Linked DNA regions of Homo sapiens: region 1 is linked to region 2. The links are contacts of gene promoters, found by promoter capture Hi-C in human tissues and cell types (Jung and others, 2019). All regions are on one chromosome and are shown on one strand. The core of a region is centred on a gene start or on the middle of the fragment in contact, and the rest is flanking DNA. Distances in the headings are between cores, read along the strand shown. Region 1 overlaps LOC124900954 (a long non-coding RNA gene). Region 2 holds the start of DROSHA (drosha ribonuclease III).

Region 1 (4,740 bases), core at 800-3,299, 1.0 Mb before region 2:
AGTTCAGTGGAAACCTTGTCAGTCATTTTCTTTTCTTTTTTTTTGGAGACAGAGTTTTGCTCTATCACCCAGGCTGGAGAGCAGTGGTGCAATCTTGGCTCACTGCAACCTCCGCCTCCAGGGTTTAAGCAATTCTCGTGCCTCAGCCTCCCGAGTAGCTGGGACTACAGGCGCACGCCACCATGCCCAGCTAATTTTTGTATTTTTAGTAGAGATGGGGGTTTCACCATGTTGGCCAGGCTGGTCTCAAATACCTAACCTCAAGTGACCTGCCCATCTCAGCCTCCCAAAGTGCTGGGATTGCAGGTGCCCAGCCACCTCGTCAGTCTTATTTACCACTTTTTGTCCAGGGCTTACAACAATACATGGCATACAGTAATTGTTCAATAAATATTTTTCTAGTTAATAAATTTTTCTCTGCTAAAAATTTGGGAAACCATTGTGCTAAGGCATTGCTTCGTAAACCCGACAAAGTCAAAACTTGCAATTTAACTTACTGTTAAATTGCCCATATAATATATTTTTTAAATATAGCTCATGAGGCCCTGCTGAATCAGACTCTTCAGGGTGGGTGTTGGCATTGCTGTTATGAATCTCCCCCGGTGATGCTGAAAGAGCTTTCTGCAGACCCTAGTTTGCAAGCCACTGCTCTGAGAGGTACTGGCTCTGCTTGGCCTCAGGGCCAGTGACATCTATGGTTACTTTCCCAGGCCTAAGAGATCTTACTCTGGCCCAGAGCCACAGTCAACAACTGTACAGTCTGGAATTTTTATCTGTATCTATTGTCATGACAGTCCACTGGCTATGGCTGGCTTCACTCTAACCATTAGACTTTTCTTTTCTTTTCTTTTCTTTTTTTCTGAGACAGAGTCTCGCTCTGCCGCAGTGGCACAATCTCATGTGACTGCAGTGGCACAATCTCCGCTCACTGCAACCTCCGCCTTCCGGGTTCAAGCAATTCTCCTGCCTCAGCCTCCCAAGTAGCTGGGATTACAGGCACCCACCACCATGCCCAGCAAATTTTTGTATTTTTAGTAGCGACAGGGTTTCACCATGCTGGCAAGACTGGTCTCGAACTCCTGACCTCAGGTGATCTGCCCACCTCGGCCTTCTAAAGTGCTGGGATTACAGGCATGAGCAACCGCGCCTGGCCACCATTAGACTTTTCAATGTGACTGCAAGCCTGAGGAGCACTACAAGCCAGTCTTTCCCTAGACCTCAACTGTAGACCTTCTTTCTTATTGTTAACTAGTAGCAATTAAAGCCATTCTGGATTGAATATCAGAAGTTCTCCATGACTGGAGAAAAGAATCTCACCACTTCTAACACCCTGTAATTCTTCCCTCTTACCCCCAACCCCCGCTCACCAAGGACTTGAGGGATAAGCTTATGCCATGCAACGGGGTTCCCCTTTCCCCTCCACCTATAGAAAGTGGCAGTAGGTCCCATAGATTCAGTTCTTCTTTCAAGGTCAAGGACAGTGTAGGAAATGGTAACATCTTCCACTCCATTCCATTACACTGGGGCCACCCACTGATGGTGGCCCTAAAGAGAAAAAAGAACTCCTGACTCAATTTTACATGCTTGCTTCGAGTCCCACTTCCCCTTTTCTCCTAGGAGGAAGAAGGACTTTATCATACTAGCAAATCTGAAGATTATCTAAAGATATTCAATTATGTATCTATAGTCAGAGTAGACCCACAGTGTGAGGAAGACCAGGCTATGGCAGCAGGGCTGCCCCTTAGGCAGAGTGGGGGTAGAAGAGTGAGGGTGGGAATAGGGGTGTTGGCTGAGGAGATGGAAGGGGAAGCAGGAAGGCAGGGTAAATCTGGATGAGCATGAGATAGAGCCCAGTCAACAAAGCACAGTACCCATGAGGGTGCAGCAATCTCCAATCCCAGTGCAAGCAAATCACTGGCCCCAGGGACTTGAGAAGCCTCAAGATGGCCTCACAGGAGTGCAAAGGAAATAAAAATAGTCTCTCTAGCACTTTGCCACCCAAGGGGTGGTCCTCCAACCAGCAGTGGCAGCATCACCCAAGCGTTTGTTAGACATGCAGAATCTCACGTCCCACCACCTAACTTAACAAGACCTCAGCATGATTTGAATGCACATTAAAGTGCTCTGAACCAGCTTGAGAACAAGCACAACTCAGTATTAAAACACAGTAGATGGTTCAGCTGAGGCTGCGTCTAGGCAACTCTCAAGCTTTGATGCACATAAGAATTGCCTGGAAAGATTCTGATTCAGGCAGAATCAGAATTTTCGGGTGCAGAATTTGGGTAGGGCACAAGAATCTATATTTTTAGCAAATGCACAGATGATTCTGATTCCAGAGGTTCCAACTGCTTTACTTCTGAACAGAGGACATGAAGTTCCCACTTACGTGTGTGCAGAATAATATTTTAAATTCTTAACTCATTGTTTCCATGTATGTGTCTCTTTTGCTCATTGCCCACTTCCAGCAGATAGGCCATTTTGTGCCCGTTGCCATTTGGAAAGGGTGTAAGAAGACTGAAGTCTAAAGAACAGAGAGACAGACAGATAGACTTCTTCCTGACTGTGGCTCCCAAAAGCCTATAGCCTTTGGTTGTACTTGTACAATGCAAACAAATGCCAGTAGATAGACAGGCTATTAAGTGTGAGTCCCAGTGGATTAGGAACTCAGAATTCAGTTGCGGTAGAAAATAAAGAAAGCAGAATATGGAGTGAAAATTGCACCAGCTACATGGGAAGGTTGGCAGGAATTTAGCTCAAGAACATTCTTTTAAAGAGTCCCCTGGTGGGGCCCCTGGTGGGGCACCTCTGGTGCAGCAGACTCTCTCGGCACTACCTCCAACGTTTCTCCAGAGAATCCTGGGCTTTTCTACCAAATGTCCAATTTTCCTTATTCTTTCTTCATGTATTTTCTCTATTCTCCTCAACATTGCCTTTAATGGCCCATCAGGAGACACCACCATGACCCTTTCAAACTAGAGAACCCAAACAACAGCGGAGAAAACAGCGATTCTTTTGATCCACTTTCTCCCGGGCCAGGGAAAACCCAGTGTTTCAAAACACGTGCTTTCCCTACCATTCCTGGAGAGAGAATGAACCATGTGAGTCTTTCCTGGGTGAGGCCAGTTTCATGCCTGACCTGCTCTCCAATCAGCAGAGAAAAGGACAATGTTTCCCTATTAAAACCAGATGAACTTTCACAGCTACTCCCCAAATATTCTTATCAATGTCGTCCTTCACTGGAAGTTAGGGTGAAATATGTATTAGCGCTTGGCAGAAATGCCAGCTAATTGCAGCTAAGATAGTGTTGCAATTTCTACCCTCCTAAATTTCTCAACGGCAAAGTTCAGCTTTCCTAAAGCTTCGGGGTCTTTGCAACCTGAAATGTCAACCCCGCAAAGACCAATTCCTATGAAAAAGCATTTGCTCTGTAATTGGTTATGGAAATGGAACCTTTAAGTGAGCTTCTGGGAGTAACAGTAGTCTGCTAGAGCAATGGCAACCCCATCCTCCTCTTTCTTGAGAGCAACGGCAACCCCATCCTCCTCTTTCTTGAAGTGAGCACCAGGATTGAAGTACAGACATACTCAGGATAAGAGTAGAATAATTCCCACACATAATCTCCAGTCTCTGTTATTTCTGTACAGGAACTTTTCCTAGTCCATCCAAATTTGACACAGCCGGGTCTGGCCTTGAACCAGCGCCACATCTCCAGGCCTGCCCTGAGCCTCCACGGCAGCCTGTTCCAGGACTCCCCTGGGAAGAGCAGTGGGAGGCTGTCTCTCCTCCAAACCCAGCAAGGTTTCTGTTCACACTTTTCCAGAGTCAAAGTGGATTAAGCTGTCTAAAAGTGGGTACAGTTAACAGAAGTGACTCAAATTACAACCATTACCTCTGCCTGCCCCCACTTCCTCTTTCATCACCTCTGAGAGGCACCTGTGGGTGCCTCCTGGGTTGATGAGCCTCCCCCTTTGGCTGCAGCATATGTATGAACGTATGACGCCACCGCTGTATGGTGGGATGCCAACTGGAGAGGAGTCTGTTGATTCTAGAGCAGCTGACTTCTGTCATGTTTCTCCCTAGAAATAGAGAGAAGCCACAGAGGGAAGAAGGTGTGAAATGGGGCCAGGTGCGGTGGCTCACACCTGTAATCCCAGCACTTTGGCAGGCAGAGGCAGGAGGATCGCTTGAGGTCAGGAGTTCGAGACAAGCCTGGCCAACATGGTGAAACCTCATCTCTACTAAAAATAAAAAAATTAGCTGGGTGCGGCCACGCGTGCCTATAGTTGCAGCTACTCAAGAGGCTGAGGCAGGAGAATCGCTTTAACCCAGGAGGCAGAGGTTGCAGTGAGCCAAGATCACACCACTACACTCCAGCCTGGGTGACAGAGTGAGATTCTGTCTCAAAAAAAGAAAAAAAAGAAAGTGTGAAATGGGAAAATGAGGGATGAAGAGCAAGTCTGCATCCTGGTAGTTCATTTCCTGCTTCCCTACTTCCTGAAGCTTTGTGGCCCTTGGGTTTCATAAAGCATCACTGTGAGTCATCCCACTATCTCATGTCTCCATCATAGCTACACTATTTCTTCACTTGTATTGTCTGCCTCTCTCACAATCAGCCAGGCTCTCCTTGACACCAGGGACCTCTTTAAATTCAGATTAGTAACGACAGCCCATGGTGGGATAGTTAGGTACAGGGAAAGTGATTCAAATGTCAGTTGAATAAATAAAAGCACAACTTGATTA
Region 2 (5,224 bases), core at 5-2,504:
GTAAATCAGCACGGCCATAAACATGGAAACCCCTTTTAGTGTTTATCTATGCAGGGCACCGTGTTAAATTTTTTTTTTTTTTTACGCAATATGGGCCGTGCGCAGTAGCTCACGCCTGCAATCCCAGCACTTTGGGAGGCCGGCGGGGGCCGATCACGTGAGGTCAGACTTTCAGACCATCCTGGCTAACGTGGCGAAGCCCCGTCTCTACTAAAAATACAAAAATTAGCTGGGTACGGTGATGCGTGCCTGTGATCCCAGCTACTCAGGAGGCTGAGACAGAAGAATCGCTCGAACCCAGGAGGCGGAGGTTGCAGTGAGCCGAGATCGCGCCACTGCACTCCAGTCTGGGTAACAGAGAGAGACTCCGTCTCAAAAAAGAAAAAAAAAAGATTTTTAAACACAGTATGCACACAATAATACTCCTAAGAGCCCTGTGAGTCCTACGATTACTGTCCCCATTTCAGATCAGAGCCCACGTTCCAAGCATAAAGCCTCCCATCTAAACAGCAGGGCTGTGGTGGCGATTCCAGGAGATACTTGGAAGCCAGAGTTAACTGCAGGTTAAGAACACAGGGCTCTGCAGCCAGACTGTCCGGTTTCGAATCCCGATGCCACCTTTTGTTTGGTTCTGGGATTTGGGGGCAAACCGAGGTAAATAAGTTGCCCCGACTCGTAGGAAGCGCCCATAAATGTCAGTTCTCATTCTTCCTAGTTAGCTGTTTTGGGGTCCTCTCCACAGCAACGGAATAGGGCAGTTTAACTCTGGTTAACTCTCTGGCCTCCGATGCTAAGGTTGCGCCCTCTGCTTGGCCCTCTGAGCGTCAGGGCTTCCGCTGATTCTGCCCCAGAGCCCTGTTGCCGTCCGCTCACCTCCTGATGATCCTCCACCACCCACACTGGGAGCTTGGGGTAACGCCGGAGACCAGCGCGCCCTCCCGCGGAGTCACTCATGTTTTTGCGCCCGTCAGTTTTGCAGTAAAGCGGTGGCAGCTGGAGAAGACCCGGGAAAGCCGGCGCCTCATCCCGGCCAGCTCTCTCCGGGCGGAAGCGCTCCCTCACCCGGTTGCGTTTTCGGATTGGAGGACGTAGGGGGAGGGGGCGCGGGCTCCAAAGGGTCTTTTGCTGACGATTGGTCTAGACGTCCATCGCTTTCGTTGACGCGCCAATCACCGCGCACAAGGCCCTGCGGTGGGCTGAAGAGTTTTCCCTCCCTTGGCCCAGCTTTCTCAGGTTTGCTTTTTAATTCCCTCGGTTTCCTGTTCCGGAGGCGCGGGCGGTGCCACTGTCTTGGTACCTGCGGTAGTAGCCTGGCTTTGCTCTGACGGCGATCTCGCGGCCCGAGAGCCTTTTATAGGTAAAAGGGGTACCTTGCAAGTGTTAGAAGAGAGTTTCCGAGTGTCAGGATTTAAACGGGGCTGGAGTCTCCGGGGCTGGGGTGAAAAGCGTCCGGGAATTGGGGTCGGGCAGCCCCACTTCAGATCTGCAGCTAAGGGCAAAAGAGCGACGCTAGGCCTGGATCCCGCAAATAAGTGGAAGTGAAAAAGGAGACCTTTCATTCATTTGTGGAGCACACACTATGGTCCAGGCCTGGGGCCGCCCGGCTCTCGGAGGGGAGTGAGATCCTGAGCTCAGCGCCTGCCTCGTGGGGCGTACCGTCTGGCGGGAGATGCAAACAGTAAATGTGCAGTTATGGATCAGGATGAAGGTGACTGCCCTGCAGATCCACCTGGGGAAAGAGGGAGTTCTCAATAAAAATGTAGTCACACTTTAAAATTCTTTTTACATGCACTGACGTTCTGGCCGTGTTAACTATTCAAGACAGCTCCTTCAGTGTCTCTGTTTCCAAACCGCAACCGAGAAGAGACAGACGGAGAAAAGAGAGTTACTTTTCCAGGTGCAGTGAATTCCTTGACTTTTGAATTAAAGTCTGCATCCACAACACAGCCGGACTATGCCTTCAATAGGTCAATTTCATGATTAGTATTTTTAGATTTTCTAACTACTGAAACATCCATGAGGATCTGGCAGTGAATGTTCAGCTCTTGTTACACACTGTACAAGAGTGTTCGTGACCCTGACTTTTGCCCACCTCTAGGTGCGGCACACACCTTTGTGTTCCCCTAAGCCCTGCACATACCTCTTTTTTGTGTGTTTATTGCATTATTTTGTATTTTTAAAACACTTACTTGTACGTGGGTTCTGAGTTCCTTGAATCCTACAGGCTGTGTGTCTTATTATCTCTGAGTCTACAGGGCCTGGGACAGTGCTTCCCATTTATGGGCTCATTAAATATTGCATGACTCAGTGAAAAGGCCTGCTTTCTGTTGCGGAGGTACATGGAAGGGAAATGTACAGTAGCAACATGGAAACATACTATTGGTGAGAGAGTAAACATTTATTGACCACCTACTGTGTGTAGGTTGCTTTTCCCGGGGATGTGAAGGATACAGAAATGACTGTGAATCAACCCATATCATCAAGGAGCTGATAATCTAGTGGAAGAGTTAGACGTGTGCATACTTCACTATGATATGAGGCAGTCTCTGGTAAGTGCTGTAAAAGGATTAAGTATAGACTAAGTCTAGAGGGAATGGGATTACCTAAGGGAATCAGGAAGGGCTTCATAGAGGAGGTGGCATTTAAGATTGATAGATGGATAGAAAATCACTGGGCAGATTCATACGTTGGGAGATTTTTTTTTTTTTTTTTTTTTGAGCTAGAGTTTCGCTCTTGTTGCCCAGGCTGGAGTGCAATGGCGCGATCTGAACTCACTGCAACCTCTGCCTAGGGTGGGAGATTTTAGAGAGGAGAACGGGAGCAAAGAACTAGCTGGTTCTTTGTACTCGAATGGTAATCTGTTGGGAAAACATGGGGTAGTAGGGTCTTTCTGGGGAAGGTACTGGAGAACAAGCCTGGGTCCAGAGTCAATAGAGCCTTAAATGCCAAGCACAGAGGTTGAACTTGATTCTGTTGGCAGTGAGTAGCCTATGGTGGCAGGAGCACCTGTCCGGGCCCCAGGTTTATCATGAGGGTACTGGACTGGATAATAGTAATAAGGAGTCAGGCGCAGTGACTCACGCCTGTAGTTCCAGCTATTTTGGAGGCTGAGGTGAGAGGATTGCTTGAGCCCAGGAGTAAGAGACAGCAGTGAGCTATGATTGCACCACTGCACTCCAGCTTAGGGACAGAGTAGACTTTGTGTCTTAAAAAAAAAATCAGATATTATTTGGTGCCTATTATTTATTAAGCACACTGACTGCTAGCATAATCTGAAATTATTTTCATGAGCCATTTGAAAGTCTACATAGTAAAGTTCTATTGATGAGACTTTTAGAAAGACTTTCAGAAAATGTTTCTATGTTACAGCTTTTTGTACTCAATATTTATGTGAGTTTTTAAAAAATGTTTTGCTGAAGTTCAAGTATTTGGAAAATCATTCATGTTTACAGTGTTTTTATGTGGGAGGAACTGAGAATGAAAATTAAGAATCATTAACTGGTGTGTTAACAAGATTCTGGTTATGTTTGAATTTGAATGCTGGTCTCACTGTGATTTTTGTGTTTGGTCTATGCCTACATGGTTTGTTTTTTTTTTTGTTTTTTTTTTTTTGTTTGTTTTTTTGAGACTGTCGCCCAGGCTGGAATGCAGTGGCGCCATCTCGGCTCACTGCAAGCTCTGCCTCCCAGGTTCATGTCATTCTCCTGCCTCAGCCTCCCGAGTAGCTGGGACTACAGGCGCCCACCACCACGCCCGGCTAAGTTTTTGTATTTTTAGTAGAGACAGGATTTCACTGTGTTAGCCAGGATGGTCTCCACCTCCTGCCCTCGTGATCCACCTGCCTCGACCTCCCAAAGTGCTGGGATTACAGGCGTGAACTACCATGCCCGGCCTATGCCTACCTGTTTTTACCATGAAGGAAACGAGAGTATGAAGGGGGAGAGGGGAAATGATATTTTTCCCAAGTCTTTTAACAAATTAGAGATGATCTATGCCTATAAGTCTTTTTAGCTGCTGATAGTTTTGAGTTGGCAAAACTAGTAATAATGACATTTTAAAATTTAAGGACATTAAAAATTTAGTTGGAAACTTTAACACAGTTCAACATGCTTTTAATTTTGTTTGTAGGCTAAGTGTATTGGAAACTACAAAATTAGTGTTATGGTAATTGCAGAAATATTTTGTAGCATTGGCAGTTTGGGAAACATGTTTATGTCTGTTTTATTCTTTCTGTTTTTTAGAGCTTATATTCTCTGTGGAAGATGTGACATATCCAGGCGGAACATCATGATGCAGGGAAACACATGGTGAGTGCCGTGATGGGAATGGCAATAGTTTGGGAGAACCGAGAGAGGAGCAGACATTGGTGCTGGGCTATAGAGGGTGGAAAGGATTTAGATACATGGGGAGAGGGGATAATGTGCTCATTCTTTCAACAGTGGGCACAATACAATAGAGGGCCATGCCCAGGGCTGGGAAGCCAGACCAGAACAGTTAATAGAAATCCCAGAGCGCTGCCCTGACAGCGCTTGCAGTTCCGAGGTGCAGGCAGACATTAAAGGTGGAATTAGGTCCTTAGAAGGTGGATTGTAATTATTGTAGGACCTGCTAAGAAGCAGCACAGAGTGTTGTGAGAGCAAGGAACCTAACAAAGCCCTAGGGTCAGTGACAGTGGTTGTAGAAAGGCCAGCAAGGATATTATTATAATAGCCATGTAAGAGGTGATGATGTGAAGTAGATGAATTCAGGAAATATTTATGAAGCAGAAACAATTGGATTTTTTGTTTATTTTTTATTAAGGGATAGTTGCCATATAAGTGACAGCAATTTTAAAGTAAATTTTTAGCTAAGGATGGGGGGTGAGGGAGGACAAGTCAGATGATTCCCTGTTACATGTCTTAAGGACTATTAATGGTGTCATTTATTGAGATAGGAAATACTAGGAAAAGAGCAAATGTTTGTCTTGGAGGGCAAGGTCATTAATTCCTTTTAGCATATGTTATGTTGAATTTGTTGGTCCAGGTCAGTGAGACACTCAAGGAGAGAGATGGGGTTGGTAATTGGCAGTGTGGGTCTGGAGCTCAGAAGTTGTGGGCTAAAGGTGTAACTTGGGAGTTTCTGACAGATTGATGTCAATTGAAGCAGTGCAGGTGAGTAGCATCACTTTGGAAGAGAGAGTGAGCAGAGTGCCTGGGCTAGACCCCTGAGGAATACCAGACGGTTA

What was found. Contacts are between HindIII fragments. The study calls those that stand out against the background at their distance.
Region 1: a contact is called between a fragment that was not itself captured here and the fragment with the promoter of DROSHA in region 2, in 1 of the 25 tissues and cell types used here (dorsolateral prefrontal cortex).

What each region holds. Positions count from the first base shown.
Region 1 is chr5:32,537,433-32,542,172 of GRCh38, reverse strand. All of the region lies in intron 4 of LOC124900954 (a long non-coding RNA gene), which reads right to left. Among named protein-coding and RNA genes, the nearest start is that of SUB1, 46 kb to the left of the region's middle. RefSeq lists an enhancer at 4,055-4,264. The HindIII fragment of the contact is 3,761 bases long and covers 169-3,929 here.
Region 2 is chr5:31,528,123-31,533,346 of GRCh38, reverse strand. It overlaps DROSHA (drosha ribonuclease III), which reads left to right and starts at 1,254. Exons shown (of 36, transcript NM_001382508.1): 1 at 1,254-1,357; 2 at 1,822-1,897; 3 at 2,423-2,549; 4 at 4,242-4,307. The coding sequence starts at 4,288. C5orf22 (chromosome 5 open reading frame 22) reads right to left here and starts at 1,046. Exons shown (of 9, transcript NM_018356.3): 1 at 874-1,046. The coding sequence starts at 954. RefSeq lists enhancers at 825-874, 925-974, 1,005-1,174. The HindIII fragment of the contact is 14,071 bases long and covers 1-5,224 here.